Linked DNA regions of Homo sapiens: region 2 is linked to region 1. The links are contacts of gene promoters, found by promoter capture Hi-C in human tissues and cell types (Jung and others, 2019). All regions are on one chromosome and are shown on one strand. The core of a region is centred on a gene start or on the middle of the fragment in contact, and the rest is flanking DNA. Distances in the headings are between cores, read along the strand shown.

Region 1 (5,107 bases), core at 2,362-4,861:
CAGATATCAGGTTTCTTTTTAGGGTGATAAAAATGTTCTAAAATGAAATTATGGTGATGATTGTACAATCCTGCAAATACACTAAAACCCAGTGAATTATACACTTTTAAAGGGTGAGCTTTCTAGTATGTAAATTAAAATTGTATCTTTCTTTTTTTATTTGAGACAGGGTCTCACTCTTGTCACCCAGGCTGGAGTGTGGTGGTGCAATCTCGGCTCACTGCAACCTCTACTACTACCCAAGCTCAAGCAACCCTCCCACCTCAGCCTCCCAAGTAGCTGGAACTACAGGCACACACCATCATGCCTGGCTAATTTCTGTATTTTTTGTAGAGATGGAGTTTTGCCATGTTGCCCAAGCTCGTCTTGAGCTCCTGGGCTCAAGCGATCCACCCTCCTGGGCCTCCCAAAGTGCTGGGATTGCAGGCACGAGACACTGCGCCCAGCCTAGTCTTTTTAAAAGAACATTCTGACTGCAGGTAGAGAATAGAATGAAGGGATCAAAGGCATATGAGGAGACACATAAGGGGCTATATGTGCAGTCCAGTCAAAAGATGGAAGCTGGCAATTTAGACTAAGCTGGTTGCAGTGGAGAATGAGGGAAATGAATGAATCCAACATTTATGAGGTAGAATCAACAAGACTCATTAACTGGGCTTTCTCTGATTGTTAGATGTAGGGGTGAGGGATGGAAGAACAAAGACTACCAGGTTTTGACCTGAGCACCTGCAGGAGCAGGCTGAGGGGAAGGTAAGTTGTCTTGACATGCTAAGGTGAGGTGTGTGTAAGAAAGACAAGTGGAGACACCTGGTAGGCAGCGAGATATATAGGTCCAGGGTGAAGGAGAGAGGTCCAGGGTAGAGACAAAGATCTGAGAGGAATACTGAATTAGTGAGGGGAGAGAGAGAATGAGACACCCCATAGACAGCACAGAATAAGGCAGCAAGGTGACGCAGGACAAAGCCTTTAAGTACCTCAACTTTTTGGGTTATGAGTAGGCAAAAGAGATTGAGAAGTGACAGCTTCTTGTCCTGATTGCTAAGCTAAGTGGAAATCTGACACCTTAACCACATGGCTATATCAGAGTGTAGTAATGCACCATCTTCTGTAGCCCCTCCTGCCATGCTGAAAAATCATTCTAGTAAATTCAACATCTGGACCAATCCCAGTCAAAGGAGATGAAAAATCACCTGGCACACAGACCCAATGAAGTATCTAAGGATTCTCCACCAGAAGAAAATCTAGTGCTGACAAACCCATGTCTTTATTCTATCTTCTTACAGGAAGCAGCAAAGACATTTACATTTTCAGGTGAATTGGAATAGCTGCAGAAAATAAGAATTTATCAATATTTGAATACAATAAGGCAAATTATCTCATCCAAATTACCTTATGCCTTCAAATAATATAAAATAATGGAAAATTGTTCTTTAATGGGTAAACTATTGTTTGAGTTTCAACTCTGCAAGATGAAAAAGTTCTCATCTATTTCGCGACAATGTCAATATACTTAACGCTAGTGAACTATGTGCTTAAAAACAATTAAGACTGGCTGGGTGCAGTGGCTCAGGTCTGTAATCTCAGGGCTTTGGGAGGCCATGGCAGGAGGATCCCTGGAGCCCAGAAGTTTGAGACCAGCCTGGGCAACATAGCAAGACCCCATCTCTACAAAAAATTAAAAAATTATCCAGGCATGGTGATGCACGCCTGTATTCCTAGCTACTTAGAAGGCTGAGCCAGGAGGATTGCTTGAGTCTGGGAGTTGGAGGTTACAGTGAGCTATGATCATACCACTATACTCCAGCTTGGGTAACAGAGCAAGACCCTGTCTCTAAAAAAAAAAAAGTAAAGAAAAAAAAACTAAAAAAAAGCTTAAAAGAGTAAATTTTATGTATTTTTATAATTTAAAAATAAATAATAGTATAATTACATTATTAAAATAACACATTCTCTGCTATGGTTTGAATGTCTTCTCCAAGACTCATATTGAAATTTAATTGCTATTTTAACAGTTGAGAGGTGGAACCTTTAAGAGGTGATTAGGACATGAGGAGTTTGCCTTTGTGAGTGGATTAATGCCATTATCACAGGAGTCAGTTATCACAGGAAAAAAGGATAAGTTCAGCCCCCTTTCTCTGTCTCACAGGCTCATTTGCCTTTCCACCTTCCACCATGTGATGATGCAGCCAAAGGCCCTCATCAGATCCCGGCTCAGAACCATGAGTCAAATACACCTCTATTGTTTATAAATTACTCAGTCTCAGGTATTATGTTATAACAGCAGAAAATAAAGACAGTCTCCCAGCACCAAGTAAAGTGAAAGGCCTTGCTTAACACTGGAAGAATATGTCAAAGAATAACATATACTGTGAGTTCCATCACATGTTTAGTGAAAGTACTGTACTTCTGCTCTGAAAAACATATTGTAGTCTATATTTTAGATTTACAATAGGAGGCACCAATGTCGCTTGTTGAAGTGAGACATTTCTCCTCCTATTCCTGGAGACAATTCTGGATAGCATTTCCTCAATCTCCCAGTTTCATATGGTCAGAGGAAACTCCCTTACCTCCCTAATCATCCCGAAACTCACCTTGAAAACATTCACATGCCTCTCTGTCAACGAATCCATCCAAACTTAAGTTTTGCTGAGCAAAGCCCGCTGCCACTAACTGATGCTACCTCTTCTTTTCTCTCTGGAGCCGGGGACACCCTACCTTGTTCTAGACCTTGTCATGTTCTACCTTGTATTACAGTTCACTTTCCATACACGTGTCCTCCCCCACGATACCGTTACGTTTCTTAAGAGGGGATCTGGATCTGAGTCTGGTTCCTCTTGGCAACCACCACACAGCCTAACAGCGTGGTATGAGTCGGCGCCTCCTCAATGATAAAGAATCCTAAAAGGAGTCTCCGCTGGCTTTTCACTGCCACATCCCATTCGGGGGTGGGAGAGAAACAAAGAATGCAAGAAAGAGCGGGCGTCCACCTAACAACTCAAAAAAGTCAAATCTTCCCAACACATGAGTGTCTAAACCATTCAGAGAGCAGGGCAGTAAAAGGGAAAAGGCCGCTTCTGGGACGAGGCGTTAAGAATTAATCAGATACAGTCCTAAGCCGTTTGAGGGGCTCACACACCAGCGAAGGAGGCAGACACTGAGAGGCACGATGACAACACTCGATGGGACCTCGGATCCCCAGGGGAAGGGGATGTAGCTTCCTCCCAACCAGCCTCGGCCCAGCAGACACCACCCTCTGCCGCCCTCAGTAGTTCCCGCACTCACTCTTGTCCAGAGGCCGGGTTAGCTCGGCCCCGACGTCGCCGTCGGCGCTGGGGCCCTGAGGTTTCACAGTCAGGGGCACGAACAAGGACGTGTTTGGTATTTTGGAGCCACCGGAGGCAGAGGAGGAGGCGGTGGCAAGGACAGAAACTTGCCCCAGAACCCCGGGAAAGGGCCCAAAGTGGGGACGAAGGGCAGAGCAGATGGCTGCCCGGTGGCCAGCCTGGCGCCCCGCCGGGAGCCGAGCCCACAATAGGGCACGGGAGAAGGACATCGAGGCCGCAGGTTCTACACTGTCTGGCGCAGCCGCGGACACGGCGGCGGACAGTGACGCGCACCTCCAGCGCCTGCTGTCCAGAAAGACCCAGGCCGAGCAGGTAAGCTGCCCGGGAAAACGCCTGACCGTTAAGGAAAACGCCGTGCCGTGAGGGTGTTCTTTCAGGGAAAAAGAAGATTAGCAGGCAAAACCACTAGAGATAATTCTCGTTCTCTTTCTCTGTTTTGTTGGTGATTGGGACCACCTTTCCCTAAAGAAGGGAAAATAATCAGGCATCTTTGGGATGTCATACATGAGCGGAGGGGGCCTGCTAGTCGTGTCACGTGATGCAAACTAGTACTTTGGTAAGCAAGTGTCCAGAAGCACGTGGGTGAGCAGTGAGAGAATGGGTGGTGGAGCAGCAACTGCGAATGCTCAGGGTACGAGTATGTCTTGCGGACTCAAACACTAAATAGCATTTCCCAAAAGTTTCTTGCATTGTTAACCGTCATTTCCTGATATGATAACGTTAGCGATAATAACTTGATATGCCCCTCAGAAATGTTGCTAAGAAATATTGTTGCACTATTAAACCCCTTGTATTACGTAAGTACTTTTGCTTTAATGTGAGCAGTTTGCGTACATCATCCTAGCAGCTATGACCACATAGTTGTGACCACATGGCAAAAATACGTGCTCTGTACCCCAGCCATAGTTTCGTTCCATTGCATTTGTTGAATACCGTGTTCTCATGTGAGGCTGCAACATGTTAAATTCACAAGTTTAACCCGGGCGTGGTGGTTCACGCCTGTAATCGCAGCACTTAGGGAGGGCGAGGCCGGTGGATCATCTGAGGTCAGGAGTTCGAGACCAGCCTGGCAAACATGGTGAAATCCCCTCTCTACTAAAAATACAAGAATCAGCCGGGCGTGGTGGTGCACACCTGTAATCCCAATTACTAGGGAGGCGGAGGCAGGAGAATCGTTTGAACCTGGGTGCCAGAGGTTGCAGTGAGCCGAGATCGGGCCACTGCTCTCCAGCCTGGGCAACAGAGTGAGACTCCGTCTAAAAAAAAAAAAAATTCACAAGTTTAGCATCTCCATCCACATCTCTTTATACTTACATCATTAAGATCTTACAACTTGAAGGAACGTGTTATGTAATATACAATACTGTATGTCTAATAGGATTCCAGTAACAATTTGCCACGTGCCTTTGATTCACAAAATAATTTTTAAACATCAGGGATACAAGGAGACAGTCCTTTGCTTTCAAAGGTTCTGATCTGGTTTTGGTGGTAAGAACAGTACACGTTAAATAATGCACTTATTACTCTAATAGACTAATGGCAGTTCAAAGAAAGGAGCAATTTGAGAGTGGTAAGGAGATTTCTGCCAGACTTAAAAGTAAAACATAGAGAAGCGGTAAGTAAATTCTAGTCAGTGGAAACGATGTAAGCAGAGGCTTAACTAAGGAAAAGACATACTGAAAAAAATTTAAGTAACAGAGTTAACGCAGACCTAATTCTATGGCTTACAAATAGTGATTATATTTTTGAGAAGAGAAATCATT
Region 2 (5,627 bases), core at 1,033-3,532, 38 kb after region 1:
CTCCATATCTAGATATATAAAACACCTTTATCAAGAACATACAAAAAATCCTACACATCAATAAGAGAAAAAGAGTCAACTAGATAGAAAAATGAGCAAAACTTGGAACCAACCAAGATAGTAGGTAAACGGATAAACAAACATTGGTACATCCATACAATGGAATATGATTTGGCACTAAAAATAAATGAGCAATCAAGTCACAAAGATATATGGAGAAACCTTAAAAGAATATTGCTAAATGAAATAAACCAATCTAAAAAGGCTACATTCTATATGATTCCAACTACATGACATTCTAGAAAAGACAAAATTATAGACAGTAAAAAGATGAGTAGTTGCCGAAGACTGTGTGGATGGTGGTGGTAGCGCAGGTGCCAGAGCGGCATGACTAGGTGAATGAAACACAGGGAATTTTTAGGGTGGTTAAACTATTCTATATGATATCACAATGATGGATACATGACATTATGCATTTATCAAAACCCAGAAAATGTACAACAGAGTAAACCCTAATGTAAACTATGGACTTTAGTTAATAATAATGTGGTAATAATGGTTCAACAATTTTAACAAATGTATCACTCTAATGCAAGATTAGTAACAGTGAATCCATGTGGGGCTGGGGTGAGGAAGAAGGGAGTACACAGAACTCTACTTTCTGCTCAATTTTTCTGAAAATCTAGAATTGCTCTTAAAAGAGCTCTTGAGTATGTATCTAGGAGTAGAACTGCTGGATACAGATAATGCAAACCAGTTTTCTATATAGTTATGTAAGAATCTGAGGCTGGACACAGTGCCTCACACCTGTCATTCCAGCACTTTGGAAGGCAGAGGCAGGAGGATCACTTGAGCCCAGAAGTTTGAGATTAGCCTGGGAAACATGGGGAGACCCCAACTCTACAAAAATAGTAAAATATTAGCTGAGCATGGTGGTGTGTGCCTGTTGTCTGAGCTACTTGGGAGGCTGAGGTGAGAGGATCGCCTGAGCTTGAGAGGTCAAGGCTACAATGAGCCATGACCACATCACTACACTCCAGCCTGGGTGACACAGCAAGACCCTGTCTCAAAAAAATTAAATTTAATTTGAAAACTAAAAGAAAGCAATCTGGGTGATAAAGACTCAAAACCCAGGGTTCTTGAACAATAACTAAAGGAAATAGCATATTTAGCTTAGAGAAGACAGGATAAACAAGACAGTGATGTGGAAAATGCTTAGAGAGAACTCTTACTTAGAAAAGGATTAGATTTATTTTGCGTATCTCTAAAAAGCAGAGTGGATACTGTTAACAGAACAGCAGAATCCCCACACTCTGAAAAGTAGGCATACAGAAACTCACGTCAGGAATATTAAAAAGGAATTTATTCTTGCTGTGGGCGAGATGTCAGACCTCCAAGATCCAACATAATATCTAATATATGAAAGATTTTCATGCAGAGCATCCTACAGTGCAAAGCCAAGTTTGGAAACCAATGAGGCAGTCTAACCTCCTAAACTTATAGGTGAGATCCAGGAAATTAAATGACTGTCCAGAGTTACCTACCAAGACAGCGGTAAAGTTAAGGCTAGATCTTCCAGTGCTAGCCCAGTGATCTTTTTATTACACCAGGACATTTCACAAACCCTAGATTGGTGTGGCAAGATTTGTTCTTAGTGACACATGCTTGGTCGTAAACAACCCGTTGTTTCCTCCTCTTTTTCCTTTAAGCTTTCTTTTCAGCATGTTCACTGATCACCTATTTAATAATCTAAAGATATGTCAGGAACCAATATTAAGTTTACCTGAAACAAACTTTCTACCCCATTTTATAAATAAGGGCTTTTCTTATATTCTAGAACCTCTCTCATTTTCCACAATTACTAAAGGACTCCTAGCAGAGATTTGGTGACCAGTTCTGCAAAATTCTTTCAGTATTATCGCATAGCATTTGTCTGGTATGGTCACCAGGATGTTTGAAAACTAGTTAGTTTATTTTTAATCTTCTTAACCATAACAAAGCTTTCATTCTGTTTTAATTTTTAATGATCCTACCTTTCCCAATTTAAATCTTTTTTTTTTTTTTGAATAGTGGGGGGAAAGCTTTCTTTTGCATTTGTTATATTAAAATAAGTGTGCCAAATGAGCATATTATTTTCTTATTCATCTTATTCTAAATATGAGGTTTAAAATGTCTTTCTTAGCTTTAAAAGCCTCAAGCTCGTTGTCAAGATAGTCTTTCTGAGGTTATTACAAATCTATACCACTTTTTTCATTTTCTTTAGTTATCCTAATTTTACTGAACACAAGATAATCTTTCAAATAATCCTTGGCCAGGCACAGTGGCTCATGCCTATAATCCCAGCACTTTGGGAGGTCAAGGTTGGGGAATCACTTGAGTCCAGGAGTTTGAGACCAGACTGGGCAACACAACAAGACCCTATCTATAAAAAAAAAAAATTTTTTTAATTAGCCAGGCAGGGTGGTTCATATGTCTGCGGTCCCAGCTACTTGGGAGGCTGAGGTAGGAGGATTACTTGGGCCCCCAGGGGGATGAGGCTGCAGTGAGCCGTAATCATGACACTACACTCAGCCTGGGCAACACAGTGAGACCCCACCTCAAAAAAAAAAAAAAAAAAAAAGGCCTGGTATGGTGGCTCACGCCTATAATCCCAGCACTTTGGGAGGCTGAGGCAGGCAGATCATGAGGTCAAGAGATTGAGACCATCCTGGCCAACATGGTGAAACCCCGTCTCTACTAAAAATACAAAAAATTAGCCGGGCGTGGTGGCATGCGCCTGTAATCCCAGCTACTCGGGAGGCTGAGGCAGGAGAATCACTTGAACCCGGGAGGCAGAGGTTGCAGTGAGCCAAGATCGCGCCACGGCACTCCAGGCTGGCAACAGAGCAAGACTGCATCTCAAAAAAAAAAGAGGAATCATTGTATCATTATGAAGAACTTCAGAAGGAATACCTGGGTCATGGTGAGTACTCAGTAAATATTGTTATTATAGCAAACCTCTTTTCATGTGAATGAATACAGATCAATATAATCACATTAATAATGGCCCTAAGCACTTAATGGTTATTACCATAATTAGGTTTTTTAATGTCTGGACATTTAAGTGGCTTTCAATTTTTGAATATTATAAACAGTGAAATGAACAAAGTTGATTATTTTAGGATAAAATCTGATCAGAAGAATCTGTGGATCAAAATAATATTAATCAATACAGGCACTGCTCAAATATTTCCAGCTGCATACATTCTGAGTGCATGGTATGATTGTATTCCCTACCCTCTTGTGGCTGGGTGAGGTACGAACAAGACTGTTTCTAGAGACAATAAATTTGATCAGAAATGCTCTTTGTTACTTCTAGGATGGGGCATTTTAATGGCTTGTGAAAGACTCTGCAGAGATTTCTCTCCCTCAGCCATGATGAGTGTGATGTTCCTGGCTGCTCCATCACTGAGCATGGCACAGAATAAGGCCCTCAGCTAACTCACAAGGAACATGTTGCCTGGGCAAGAAAGAAGCCACTGCCACTGTTGTTTTTAAGTCACTGAGTTTTGGGGTTGTCTCTTACATAGTAATAATCCAGACTATTCTGGCTACTATAAATGATATCCACTTTTGAAGATTTTGATACATATTGCTAAACTGCCAGAATGGTTACACATGGCCTTTTAGAATCTCAGATCAATTTCTGGGAAGATGGCAACATAGTCTTTGAATCTCCCCAGATCGTCACATAAAAACAGATGGACCAACTAGACAGCAAAACCAAAAAAATCTAAGGATCCAATTTACCACAGAAAAAGATAAAGTATTCCCACAATCCCAAAACATAATGCGTAGGGACAAACCAGGTTAATAGCCACAAAACCTGCATGATACTAGGGTTGTGCAGGAGGAATCAAAGAATGCAATGGAGTGTCTGATGGACCTAAGAACTCCCAAATTACTCATATATATTCACTGGAAAGCATGGTGTCAATCTGAGAATAAGAGCTAACGCTGGAAGGAGTTTTGCACAATCCAATAATATTAGAACACTCAAAACTGACCAGTCAGGCCTGCTGTCTAGGATAGGTGGTTAGAAAAACTATCCTAAACCAAACCATCAAAAGTTCAGGAAGGGCCAGGCACAGTGGTTCACACCTGTAATCCCAGCACTTTGGGAGGCTGAGACAGGTGGATCGCCTGAGCTCAGGAGCTCGAAACCAGCCTGGGCAACACGGTGAAACCCCGTATCTACCCCAAAATACCAAAAATAATAATAATAATAATTGGGCGTGGTAGTGTGCCCTGTGGTCCTAGCTGCTCAGGAGGCAGAGATGGGAAGATCGCTTTAGCCTGGGAGACGGAGGTTGCAGTGAGCTGAAATCGTGCCACTGCACTCCAACATGGGTGACAGAGTGAGACTCTATCACGAAAAGACAAAAAGTTCAGGAGAAGGTCGGGTGCAGTGGCTCACATCTCAGCACTTTGGGAGGCCAGGATGGGAGGATCACTTGAGCTCAGGAGTTTGAGACCAGCCTGAGCAACATAGCAAGACCCTGTCTCTACAAAAAATATATATTTTTTAATTAGCTAGGCACAGTGGCACATGCCTGTGGTCCCAGCTACTCGGAAGGCTGAGGTAGGAGGATCGCTTGGGCCTTGGAGGTCAAGGCTGCAGTGAGCCATAGTCATGCCACTGCATTCCAGCCTGGGCAACAGAGCAAGATCTTATCTCAAAAAAAAAAAACATTGGGGAAAACTAATTTCACATAAAAATTAGCAACATAAATATATCAAGGTCAAATCCCATACAAAGTTATTTTAAGAAAAAAAGAGAAGGAACAGAATGGCATTTCTACAGACAAGATAGATCAAAACTGTAATTTATTTCAAAACAGGCTATACGATATTAAGAAAATGATACAATACATGAAAGAAAATCTTAAGCTAGGGTGAGAAAAATCAGAAAAGAATTAGAAATAGAAGTAAAAATCATTTTAGAAATAAAGGATAAGCAGAAGGAATACAAGAGCAAAAAACCACACTCAAACAAGACTCAAAAATACTGATATCAAGAAGAAAACCAAAGCAAAGGAATGGAATAAATACTAATTAATAATGGCTGTAATTCAAGAAAACTTTCCTCAAATGAAAAAACTGTTAACAATACCCTATGCCAGAAGACAATGCAGTAATAATAGATTTAAAACACTCAAGAAGGCCGGGCACGATGGATCATATCTGTAATCCCAGCACTTTGGGAGGCCAAGGCAGGCGGATCACAAGGTCAGGAGTTTGAGACCAGCCTGGCCAATATGGTGAAACCCCATCTCTACTAAAAATTTAAAAACTAGCCAGACATGGTGGTGGGCACCTGTAGTCCCAGCTACTTGGGAGGCTGAGGCAGGAGAATCGCTTGAACCTAGGAGGCAGAGGTTGCAGTGAGCCGAGATTATGCCACCGCACTCCAGCCTGGGTGACAGAGCAAGACTCCATCTCAAAAATAATAAATAAATAGAAAATAAATAAAATAACTCAAAAAAATGTAAGCCAAGATTATTCAGAAAAACTAACTTTTAAGTGTAAAGGACACAAAAAAGCCATTACCAATATGCAAAAACTTAGGCCTTATTGTTCCCATGAGC

Evidence for each region. The method cuts DNA at HindIII sites, captures the fragments that hold promoters and counts their contacts. A contact is called where the count stands out against the background at its distance.
Region 2: a contact is called between a fragment that was not itself captured here and the fragment with the promoter of SUPV3L1 in region 1, in 1 of the 25 tissues and cell types used here (adrenal gland).

The regions. Positions count from the first base shown.
Region 1 is chr10:69,178,738-69,183,844 of GRCh38, reverse strand. It overlaps SUPV3L1 (Suv3 like RNA helicase), which reads right to left and starts at 3,611. Exons shown (of 15, transcript NM_003171.5): 1 at 3,283-3,611. The coding sequence starts at 3,553. RefSeq lists an enhancer at 3,527-3,896. The HindIII fragment of the contact is 9,715 bases long and covers 1-5,107 here.
Region 2 is chr10:69,139,176-69,144,802 of GRCh38, reverse strand. All of the region lies in intron 2 of VPS26A (VPS26 retromer complex component A), which reads right to left. Among named protein-coding and RNA genes, the nearest start is that of VPS26A, 18 kb to the right of the region's middle. The HindIII fragment of the contact is 3,189 bases long and covers 688-3,876 here.